Regions from separate parts of the Homo sapiens genome. Here region 1 is linked to region 2. Evidence: promoter capture Hi-C in human tissues and cell types (Jung and others, 2019). All regions are on one chromosome and are shown on one strand. The core of a region is centred on a gene start or on the middle of the fragment in contact, and the rest is flanking DNA. Distances in the headings are between cores, read along the strand shown.

Evidence for each region. Contacts are between HindIII fragments. The study calls those that stand out against the background at their distance.
Region 1: a fragment that was not itself captured here is called in contact with the fragment with the promoter of PPP6C in region 2 in 1 of the 25 tissues and cell types used here (dorsolateral prefrontal cortex).

The regions. Positions count from the first base shown.
Region 1 is chr9:125,750,313-125,756,176 of GRCh38, reverse strand. All of the region lies in intron 2 of PBX3 (PBX homeobox 3), which reads right to left. Among named protein-coding and RNA genes, the nearest start is that of PBX3, 5.9 kb to the right of the region's middle. RefSeq lists an enhancer at 84-1,522. The HindIII fragment of the contact is 5,452 bases long and covers 1,157-5,864 here.
Region 2 is chr9:125,186,063-125,191,923 of GRCh38, reverse strand. PPP6C (protein phosphatase 6 catalytic subunit) reads left to right here and starts at 2,121. Exons shown (of 7, transcript NM_002721.5): 1 at 2,121-2,280. The coding sequence starts at 2,206. RefSeq lists enhancers at 1,844-1,923, 1,226-2,012, 2,013-2,799. The HindIII fragment of the contact is 9,567 bases long and covers 1-5,861 here.

The DNA.
Region 1 (5,864 bases), core at 2,633-5,132, 560 kb before region 2:
TATAAAGGGCAGTTTAACCATGAATTATAATTGTTACAGCTTTTATGGATTCAAGTCAGAATGTTAATACTCATTTAATATAGTTTTCTGAAGCCCAATTCAACTTCTTCCTTCCTTCCCTAGTGAAGAAAATATCCTTGTGAAGTTCAATTTAGTGACATTGGTGCACAAGCCCATACACAGAAGTTTACACTTCTGAGAAGAGATAAGTGATAAACAGTTCATTAGCCATGTTAATGAAATTATGTTTTAGGAAAAAAAAGACTAGGTGACACAAAAATTTTAGTATATTTTTATACAGAAACATTACAATAAAAACTTTATATTCAGTATCTCCAATTAGGTCAATTAATATTCAGAAAAATCCTGTAACATTTCATTTAAATAATCATAGGAGGGGGAAAAAAGAATCCACCAATGTTCTGGAAGCTTCTCTAGACCTTTCAATCAATTTTATTTATATGCAAAACCAAGAGAAACTCAAAAAAAAAAAAAAAAAAAAAACAAAGCTCCTCCTGATGCTAAAGCTCTCAATTTACTGACAGGCAAATGGCTTCATGCTGCCACTTAATCTCATTTCTTGCATAATGCCCTCTAATTAGCATATCAAAGTGAATTAATACTTCTAGGGCATTAGCAATGGGGAAATCTGCTCCAGGCTCACAATAGCAGTTAAGAGAGAGCCAAGAAATCCTCAAAAACACCACAAACCACTTTGCATTGCAAAACTGTTCAATTTATTTATCCTCTCTCTCTAAACACTTTTACCGCACACTGTTTTACTACTGTTCACCAAACAAAATGATAATTGCCAAAGTTACCAGCATCTGTAATGCCTGTTTAGAATCTTAATTTAGACTGTTGCAGATAATTTCTATATGCAACCATTTGTTCTATTATAAATGTTAATATAGAGACAGTGAAAATGTTGACATTCTCAATTAGTTAATTTGAATTTGAAATAAAATTTTATGGGATTTTAAAATTTATGAATTTTTTAATGTAAAAAGCCACCTGCTGGACTCTGAAGCCTAAGAAATATGCTTTGAAAACTGATGTATCACATAAAAGAAAACAAAACAAACAAAAAATCATTTTGCCATAACATGTTGAGTCTCACAAATAATGGTTTAAACATTGTGAGGACTCATCAGCATTAAAAGGATTACATTGTATACCAAGTCCTCATTAATATGATCACTAAAAAAGAGTTATTGTCTAAACAGCTTAACATTTTTAAAGCACTTAAGTTGAAAGAAGTAGAAAACTTTTAACAATTATTTTTATCCATAAATATTTTTAATTGCTTTCATACTAACCTGTTACTATTACGTAGACAGTTATACAAAAAAAGTTACGCCAATTCAGTTTGATACATTCTATCACACCAATTTTTTTGCTAGATATACACTCAAATTTAGTGCCAAAGTAAACTAGTTACCATTAAAACCTACAAACATATTATACTATGGAATATATCTATGAAAAAATAATACAGAAGAAATTCTTGTTGCAATTCTGCCTACAAAAGGGATAATTAGAATCAAGTGTTGAAGATTAATGAAATTTATTTTTTAATATGTTCTGAGTTTGAAGGCATAAAAAGGTGGTTTATTTTTTCAGTAGCTCATTCAAGAATTACTTATTATTTGCTAAATATAGCACTGTCAACTAGATGTGATAGCAATTTGTCTGATTAACTTCAATAACTTTGTAAAAAATCAGATAGCTAGTTCTGAAAAACTTTTACCAATTTATACTACATAGTGATATAAATTATTTACTCTCTTCATACTTGAAGACTCAAATGGCCTACTGAAGTAGAGCAAATGCTTGAAAAGGTCAACACGGGCTTGAGGGGGAGGTGGTGGTAATGTGTAAGCTTTGTTAGTCAGTTAATACCTAAATCATGCTGATCACACTGATAAATGGCTAAAACACAAGACTGCTGAGAAAACAAAACATTATTCTCATAATGTCAATATTGAACTAATAAATATCTAAAGATGTTCACAAACACGAATAGGGAAAAGATAATCTAAAACCTTATATAACTTGATGTGTTAGTGCTGATGTGTTAAGCATTTATTCTAAATAGATACCTCAGGGTAGAGTACAAAATAAAGTGATGACTGACTTAGGGTGTGGTTCACGAAATGCAGTTTCAATTCTTATAGTCCCACTTCATATAATGTAACTTCATCCTATACCATGCCACTATAAAGTATCAAAATATAAATAATCCAACTAATACGTTAATTTAAATTTGCCTCAGAAGTAACCTTTTACAAAATTTATAAATTGAGATGGAAATATACAGGCAAAATTAATTAAAAGGAAAAGCATCATAGTATGAAAAATGTAGACAAGTACATTTTATGAAAGCCGATCAACCAGTGTGCTCTTTGGGGCAAGTCGGGGCCTCCTTTGCTAGTGTATTAAAAGACTTCTAATTCAGAATAAAATTATGTAAATTAATAAAATAACATAGTAAAGTCCCAAATAAAATACCAAAACTATTCAAATCTGTAATAAAATGAGGGTCATTAAAACTAAGGAACAAAAGAATTACTTGCACAGATCAAGTTAGTATTGACAAGAGAGTTCAATACATTTTTATTGGGAAGAAAAAAATAAAGAACAGGATTGGAAAATGTCTCTATATTTTAAAGATAATATCCACATGATACTTTAGATCATGAGGTTCTAAACCAGCTTGGCAATGAGATTTTTCTCCAGGTTTTCTACAAATGTATTATATGTGCTATTTTGTTAGGATGGAAATGGAAGAATAAAGAAGTAGAAAAATCCCTTTCTTTTACAACTTCTCTGAAAACCTCCTACAAAAGCTCCAGTAAGATACCAAATCTATAAAAATAGAAAAAAAAAAAGGTAAAATATTAAGTTAAGAAAAATATATTGATAAAGCAATATAATTTATAACATTTCCAAGATACTCTGACTTTGTATTTTTCCTGTTTAATCACTTAATATTTCCAATATAAGCAGACCTAATGCTTAAAATTGATATGAAACTTAAAACATTAAAGAACCATTAAAATTTGCTTCAAAATAATTTTGGAATGGTGGGAATTACAGAGAAAACACGACTGGCCAAGTATTGCTAATTGCTGAAGATGGGCACTGAGTTCATGGGAGGTTCAAGAGTCTCTGCTCTCTGCATGTTATGTTTCAAAGGTGTCCACAATAAAAAGTTGTTAAAATCTTGAAAATAAGTTCATTAAAACAAAATGTGTTTCATGAAAACACAAAAAGGAATCATGTATGGAACAGTGCATTTGTTTTTAAAACTTGAAACAAAAGATGATAATTATATTGGAAATAGTGCAAGAGCAACTTAAAAGCATATGCAAAATATATAATAACATTTAGACTAATATATAACAATTTTCACCTTTCTTGCTAAATTTTCACTTGAAAAAATTGATTTTTACATATGTAGAATTAAAAGAATCACACAGCACTGTACAAAGAAAAATGTAACAGATTTTTATATTGAAACCTTAAAAAGAGAAGCACACCAAAAAAAGACTCCAAAGAGTCTCTAAACCTGTGGGTTCACAATTAAATAGAGAGGTGTCGAATGACAGTACTGCCTTGTCTCTTTGAAAGCTAGTCACACTTCTAGCAATAAAGATAAAAGGTTTAATCTCACATCATATACTAAATGCACATAAAACCTCACTTGTAAACTATACTCTTGATCTAGTTTTAATATCTAAAATTCTTATGACTCTTTCTAGGGAGGGTTCCTTTAAAAGTAAGGCATTTTTACTAGTCATTTTCTTCTCCTTAAACATAAAAAATACTTCAACCAGCCCAACCAACCAAGCAGGCCTTTCTCTTCCCCTGCGGACACCTCCTGCAGTAGAGAAGTTCATTAAGTTTTATGATCTTCCCAAGTCAGTCCTACTTATAAGCCTCACAAAGGCTACAAATCTGGCAAACCATCATGTATGCCATTAGACATTACTAGTAAATGAACGCTATTTAGGGTTTGTGGTGGCAATAAATCAGAGTTTGGTTGGCAGCCATCAACATGGAGTATTTTAACCTATTATTTGAAAAGGAAAAGGTTGTGTTTATTTTTTTTCATGCATAACATTTTTCACAATAATGTGATTCATATTATCTACTAAAATGTGGGATTTCATTTAAAAAATAAATATTTTTTTCTTGAAAAAGAACTATTTCCTTCACTTAAACTCGCACAATTAAGGGCTTTGGAAAGAAGACAAGATTTTTCAGGATGAAATATTTCACAAAGGAAAGCACTTCAACAATTAAGATTAAGATGACCAAAAAGAGGTGGGGGCATACACCAAAAGAGGTATGCAGGTGAGCAGACCTTGTGGCATCAGGGATATTTAATAAGAGACAGATGATAAAATATGGCTTTAAAAATCAGGAGAAAAATCTTAACATATCAACAATAATCTCACTGGTTACTTGGTTTAAAATAAACAACTATTTTTATTTTAAAGCCTACAACTTTTTGGGTGCTCTCAAAATGCACAAATATCACAATTCAACAATGAGAGACATTTCTGCCCAAAAATAATGGTATGATCAATTTTACGAAAGAATATATTCTCAAGAAAAAGCAGCATCTTATAGTAGAAGTATACTTTCCTTACCTCTCAACAAGAAAATAATATAATTGTAGTAGATTACCCATTTATCTGTCAGAAGGGAAAAATACCTTTTCATATATGGTAGAGGGGGAAACAGATGTTTTCTAAACTAAATCCCCCATGTGCATAAGAACTGGCAGTGTTCACTGCCTGATCAGAAACCTCAAAATCCACTGGCAGAGCTACAAATAAACAGATTTTTTTTAAAATGATTTTGTTTTGTTTTAGAAGAAAAGCACAACTGAAATGACATTATCCACTGAAATGACAGTTCACCCTCAACCCCCTTCATTAAGCAGAATAGAGTCATCAACATAATGTTTCTGGTTTCTATTCATAAATGACTAGGTAAACTTTCTCTAAATTACAAAGAATTAATTTTTAGGTATTATTAGATTAAATAAAATGATTTTTAAAAAATATTTATGCAATATACATATATTCTACAATGTTTCTTTTATAAGTTCATGTTTCTAAAGCATGACCGACTATGGAAGCAGGAGTGGGGGGGCTTGGAATTTGCAGCCCCGCTTTCTTTGCTTTGGTAACACTAATGTCTACACAGCTGTTTTATTTCGAATTGAGGATTCTGAGTCCCTGTCTCATTCTAAGACTAGTTTTGGAGAGTGAGGTGAAGCTATGGGTAGTAGGGGAGAATGGAAAGAAGAGAAAGAGCTTCACCCCCATCAATCACTCAGTACTTAAATCCCATCCCTCTCGAGCTTAGAGAGGCTAGCAGGAAGATGCCTCTACCCAGACAGCCGCCTTTACTCTTTGTCGGCTGTTGGCTTTTTACAAAAGAGATAACGTGCAAATGTGGATCCACTGGCCAAAGCACAAAAAGAGAATCTAATTTACAAGTTATCACTGAAAGCCCCAGAAACAATTTTAAAACACAAAAATTTCTTTTGTCAGCTGCCTCTTGGTTTTTAAATAGCAATAGCCCTACCAAAGCTCTCTCTGCCAGTAATCCCAGACTTTGAAAAGATTTGTTTCTTTTTCGTAACTCACCTTTGACATGTGGTTGACTATACTTTCCTTTCAGAATGGTGTAACTAAGTCCTGTGCAAATAAGCAACTAAAGGACTTATGCTTCCTAATTGAATTCTGCCTGCTGCTAAATGTCTCAACATGAAAAGCAGTTTGCTGGGTTTAGTTCTCAAGCTAGCTAGGCCAAAACTTTAAAAAGGCAAAAATAAATAAATAAAT
Region 2 (5,861 bases), core at 872-3,371:
ATTTTTTTTTTTTTTCTGTTGGCCAGGCTGGAGTGCAGTGGCACGACCTCAGCTCCCTGTAACCCCCACCTCAAAGCAATTTTCATGCCTCAGACTCCGGAGTAGCTGGGATTACAGGCATGTGCTACAATGCCCAGCTAATTTTTGTATTTTTAGTAGAGATCAGGTTTCACCATGTTGGCCAGGATGGTCTTGAATTCCTAGCCTCAAGATATCTGCTCACCTTGGCTTCACTACTGGGATTACAAGTTTGAGCCACTGCACCCGGCCTCAACAAAAACAAAAATTTTAATTACCTCACCCTATGCATCTCTTCATTTGTATCCTTTGTAATATCCTTTATATTAATAATAAACCAGTAAATGTAAATAAATAAATAAATACTGTTTGTCTCTTCCCAGCAGATTGTAAGCCTGATTAGGGCAGGGATCATATCTGTTTTATTCACATCATAAGCACTGTGTAACCTCTGGTTTCTTTTCTCTTTGAGATGGAGTTTCACTCTGTGGCCCAGGCTGGAGTACAGTGGCGCCATCTCAGCTCACTGCAACCTCTGCCTCAAGCAATTCAAGTGATCCTCCTGCCTCAGCCTCCCCAGTATTTTGTATTTTTAGTAGAGATGGGGTTTCGGCATGTTGGCCAGGCTGGTCTTGAACTCCTGACGTCAGGTGATCTGCCTGCCTTGGCCTCCCAAAGTGCTGAGATTACAGGCATTAGCCACCGCGGCCTGGCCAATAGGCACTATGTAACTATTAGTTTAATGAATGAAGAAATGAATGCTTGTGGGCATCATTCATTCTGCAACAAACTTCTAAAAATTAATTTTACTTTGAAACAATTTCATACTTTCAGAGGAGTTACAAGAATAATACAAAGAAGTTCACCCAGATATCTCATTCAGGGTTAGCCAATTGTCCACAAAATATACTTTAGAGAGCAAGAGGATTAATTCCAGGGTCTCTTGAGCAACAAATATTTATTGAGCGCCTGCTACTATTGGATTACATAACAGTCTCTTAACTGGTCTCTTAGCTATAGGCATTGCACCCCCACCCCTAGTCCCATACAGCAGCTCCTTTTACTAATTTATTTTTGAGGAGGATCTCGCTCTGTCGCCCAAGCTGGAGTGCAGTGCCGCGATCTCAGCTCACTGCAACCTCCGCCTCCCAACTCAAGCGGTTCTCCTGCCTCAGCCTCCAGAGTAGCTGGGACCACAAGCACGCACTACCGCGCCAGGCTAATTTTGGTACTTTTTGTAGCTACAGATAGAATAGAGATCTTTGTCTATTTTGTTCACGAAGTACTGCAAGCGCCTTGAGCTGTACCTGGCACATCTTTGTTGCTCAGCAAAGAGTGGTTGGATAAACGAACGCTGAAGGTATGCTAGTACCAGGTACTGTTCTCGGTGCTGGAGTTACAGCAAAAAACTCCCTGCCCTCGTGGGATTCTCACTGGAAGCATGCTTAAGCTTAAGCCATTTTTCAATCTTGACCCCACCATTTTGTTCCCTGTGAGATTTGGGGTGAACTGCAGTTTCCTAGCCTCACTTTCCTATCAATCGTTACGAAGATTAAAAGGAAAAATATCATTTGTATCGCATTTAGCATCAGAAATGCTTTAATAATATTCGTTTCCCTTCCTTTCAGGCTGGAAGACTGGGGCCTGACATCTCTGCCACAGGCTTAGGCGAGGTTTTCACAGGGACTTGGAAAGGTGCAAACGGTTACTACGGCCAGGCTTACCCAATTGTTAAGTGAAGATATTCTGGAGAGTGCTTAAAAGGGTTGGAAAAACAAACCAGTGAGTGGCTAGGACCACCTACTCCGCTGTTTTGCCTCGGAAAAGCCTCGCCGGCTGCCGGGAGGTGAAAGTCTGGAGGAACGGGAGGAAAAGAGAGGGGTGGCTGTCCACAACAGAAAACTACACATCCCAGCACCCCCGCGGCAGACGACTACGGGTCCCAGCAGGTTTCGCGGGGTGGACCGAAGCGGGCTCTCTTGGGGCCTGCAGTCGGGGTTCAGCCAGAGGGGGCGCCGGGCGTACCGACGTAGCGGGGAGAAACGGGTCGCGCTTTAACGGCGCTGCGCAGGCGCCACTCACGGGCCGGACGTGACGCAGGGAAAGTTCCGGCTTCGGCCTCCGCCGCTGCCGCCGCCGCTGCTACAGCCGCCGCCGCCGCTGTTGCCGCGGCTTGTTATTCTTAAAATGGCGCCGCTAGACCTGGACAAGTATGTGGAAATAGCGCGGCTGTGCAAGTACCTGCCAGAGAACGACCTGAAGGTGAGCCCTATTTGCGGGCTCGCCCCTTCCGGCTGTGGGGCGCCCGCCGGCCGGCCCTTCCTTTCTCCAGGACCCCCGCCGGGTATCCAGTCCAGTCGCGGTGGAGGGCCTCCCCCATTGCCAGTCGACCCGGTCCTACCCGGCGTCACGCCGAGGGTCTCGCGAGCCGAGTCGTCGAATGCTGTCCCGGTTGCCTCAGTGGGGATCCCGAGGGATGTCGCGGCCTCTGTCCCAGGGTCGCCCCTTCTGGCCTTCGGGCTGCCCCAGGACCCGCAGCTGTAACAGCTTTATTTAGAAGGCTCGGCTCCCCACCCCATCCCTGGGTCTCCCGCAGTCGGAGCCGAGCCCCCGCGGCAGTGCCCTCGGGATGGGGTCGCCTCCACCGGAGGTGACAGGAGCGCGGAGTGGCCGGCGTCTGACAGGAGATGCCACCGGCTACCGGAACGCGGCCTCAGTGTGTTTAGGTCTCTGAGGAAGGGGAAGGCGGTGGGCCCGAGTGGTTTGGTACTGGCGGGAGCGAACGTCAGGTCGTCCCTCTTCATTGCCACTCCTCCAAATTGCTTTTTAGGATCGTCGGTTTTGCTAATTCAGAGGTGAATCCCGTTTCTGAGTATGTTGTTGAGCTTACTGAAGTGGATAAAGTAGTTGGTTCTCAATAAATACAAATACTTTCTCCTTAACCCCTTCTTAACTCAGTATTTCATTTTCTTCGTTTTCTAAAGGAGGTGAGTTCCTTGTTACTCCTGAGTCCAAGTAAGAGTAAATGTATGTATGGGTAAAGGAATGACTTTGGTATACTGCTTTTCTTTTTTAAAACTTTTTAATTATTATTATTATTATTATTATTATTGTTTTTAACTGAGATAGAGTCTCACTCTGTCACCCAGGCTGGAGTGCAGCGGTGCGATCTTGGCTCACTGCAACCTCCACTTCCCGGGTTCAAGCGATTCTCCTGCCTCAGCCTCCCGACTAGGTGGAATTACAGGCGCCCGTCACGACGCCCGGCTGTTTTGTATTTTTAGTAGAGACGGGGTTTCGCCATGTTGGCCAGGCTGGTCTTGAACTCCTGACCTCAAGTGATCCGCCCGCTTCGGCCTACCAAAGTGCTGGTATTACAGGCGTGAGCCACCGCGCCGGCCTAGGTATACTGCTTCTTTGAAAAGTGTTTCTATGCATTTGCTGAAATCAGAGCTTAGGTTTCTAGCAGTGCTTATCAGCTCGTGCTAGTATTTAACCGACTCAGTGTATTCTTTTTTTTTGAGACGGAGTCTCGCTCTGTCGCCCAGGCCGGAGTGCGGTGGCACCATCTCGGCTCACTGCAACCTCCGCCTCCCGGGTTCACGCCATTCTCCTGCCTCAGTCTCCCGAGTAGCTGGGACTACAGGTGCCCGCCACCACGCCTGGCTAATTTTTTGTATTTTTAGTAGAGACGGGGTTTCACCGTGTTAGCCAGGATGGTCTCGATCTCCTGAACTCGTGATCCGCCCGCCTCGGCCTCCCAAAGTGCTGGGATTACAGGCGTAAGCCACCGTGCCCAGCCCCGACTCAGTGTATTCTTAAGGAAATATATTACTGTGGGTTTTGTTTTATTTCTTCTTTGTACAGTAAGTTGATACTTAACATCAGTCAACAAGTATGCATAATATTTGAGGCCACACGTGCTGTTGTGAATGTGACTGAATTGTACTTACCTGTTAATTTTATGTGGCATATGATAGGGGAGTCATTCTTGTGCATTTTCCCGTTTTTAATAGAATAATTTCAAATAAGGACAGCCTTCGTTAGTAGTAATGTAGCATTTGTGCTCATCTGAGTCCTTCAGACATTCCTTTTGTGGCTTCTTTCTGCTATGTGGTTTTTTTAAGGGAATAAGAATACAACTAGCATTGGGACCCAATTCATGGAAAACTAACCAGACCTCTTAGTAGCATTATTAATCCCATAGGTGAGGTTGACTATTGCATGTCAGTGAATTGACATGGAATTTTTTCTTCTTATTTATCATGCATAAAGCTTTTTTGAACTTTGTGTTTATGATGAATAAAATGTTGCTTTTTATGAAAATGTGTCTAGGGCACAGTGGCGTAATCTCAGTACTTGGGGAGGCTGAGGTGGGCAGATCATTTGAGATCAGGAGTTTGAGACCAGACTGACCGACTTGGTGAAACCCCCTCTCTACTAAAAACACAGAAATTAGCCGAGCATGGTGGTAGGTGCCTGTAATCCCAGTTTACTTACTTGGGAGGCTGAGGCAGGGAGAATGGCTTGAACCCGGGAGAATTGCTTGCAGTGAGCCGGGATCACACCACTGTACTCCAGCCTGGGAGACAGAGCAAGACTCTGTCTCAAAAAAAAAGAAAAGGAAATTGGGCACTGAAATGATTTGAAAGATAATCTGGCCAGGTGCAGTGGCTCACGCCTGTAATCCCAGCACTTTGGGTGGCTGAGGCAGGTGGATCACTTGAGGTCAGGAGCTCGAGACCAGCCTGGCCAACATGGTGAAACCCCGTCTGTACTAAAAATACAAAAATAAACTGGAGGTGGTGGCAGGTGCTTGGAATCCCAGCTACTTGGGAGGCTGAGGCAGGAGAATCGCTTGAACCAGGGAGGCGGAGGTTGCAGTGAGCCAAGATTGCGCCACTGCAGTCCAGCCTGGGTGACAGAGGGAGACTCCGTCTCACCAAAAAAAAAAAAAAAAAAAAAAAGAAAGAAAAATCTGTTGGACTTCTTTGTACCTCTTAGTTTGATAAACATTAGATTTCCTTCTTACCTTAAGGAAGTACAATTTTTAGACCATTTTATTTCTTGTTGAAACATAGCTGCATTGTACTTGACTTGTATTTGTTTCTTTTTTTTTCTTAAAAAAATTTTTAATCTTTTTTTTGGTGGGGGAGCGGGGACATGGTCTCACTCTCACCCATGCTGTAGTGTGGTGGCACAATCATGGCTCATTGCAGCCTCGACCTCCTGGGCTCAGGCAGTCCTCCCACCTTAGCCTCCTGAGAAGCTGGGACCACAGGCACATGCCCCCATGACCAGCTAATTTTTATTTATTTTTTTGGTAGAGACAGGGTCTTGCTATGTTACCCAGGCCAGTCTTGAACTCCTGGGCTCAAGCGATCCTCCCACCTTGGCTTCCCAAAATGCTGGGATAACAGGCATGAGCCACTATACTTGGCCTGTATCCATTTCTTAATAAACTTAAAAATATATGTTTTGGGCAACCAAGACAAAAGTATTCTGAATTTTTCTTTATAGGTAGAGACTTTTTTTTCTGTCTTGGAAATGCTTTTATCAGATTAATTTGTTGTGTTGCTCATCTCTGGTGTATTTAAAGAAATTTAATTTTTTTCTGTTTCTTGGCATGAAGTGCAACCTAAAATTAGGCCAAGAAAGTATGCCAGGAGTACTTTTTCTGAGGCTGTAAAGGCAAAATAAAACATTCTATTAAGAAAAGTAATCATTGAGGCCACTTAATGAGCAAGATGGAAAAGATTTGTTCTGTAGAAAAGAAGACAGAAATTTACTTGTGTTTTAAATTGATTAGAAGATAAAATACTAAATGCATACGATGTTCCAGA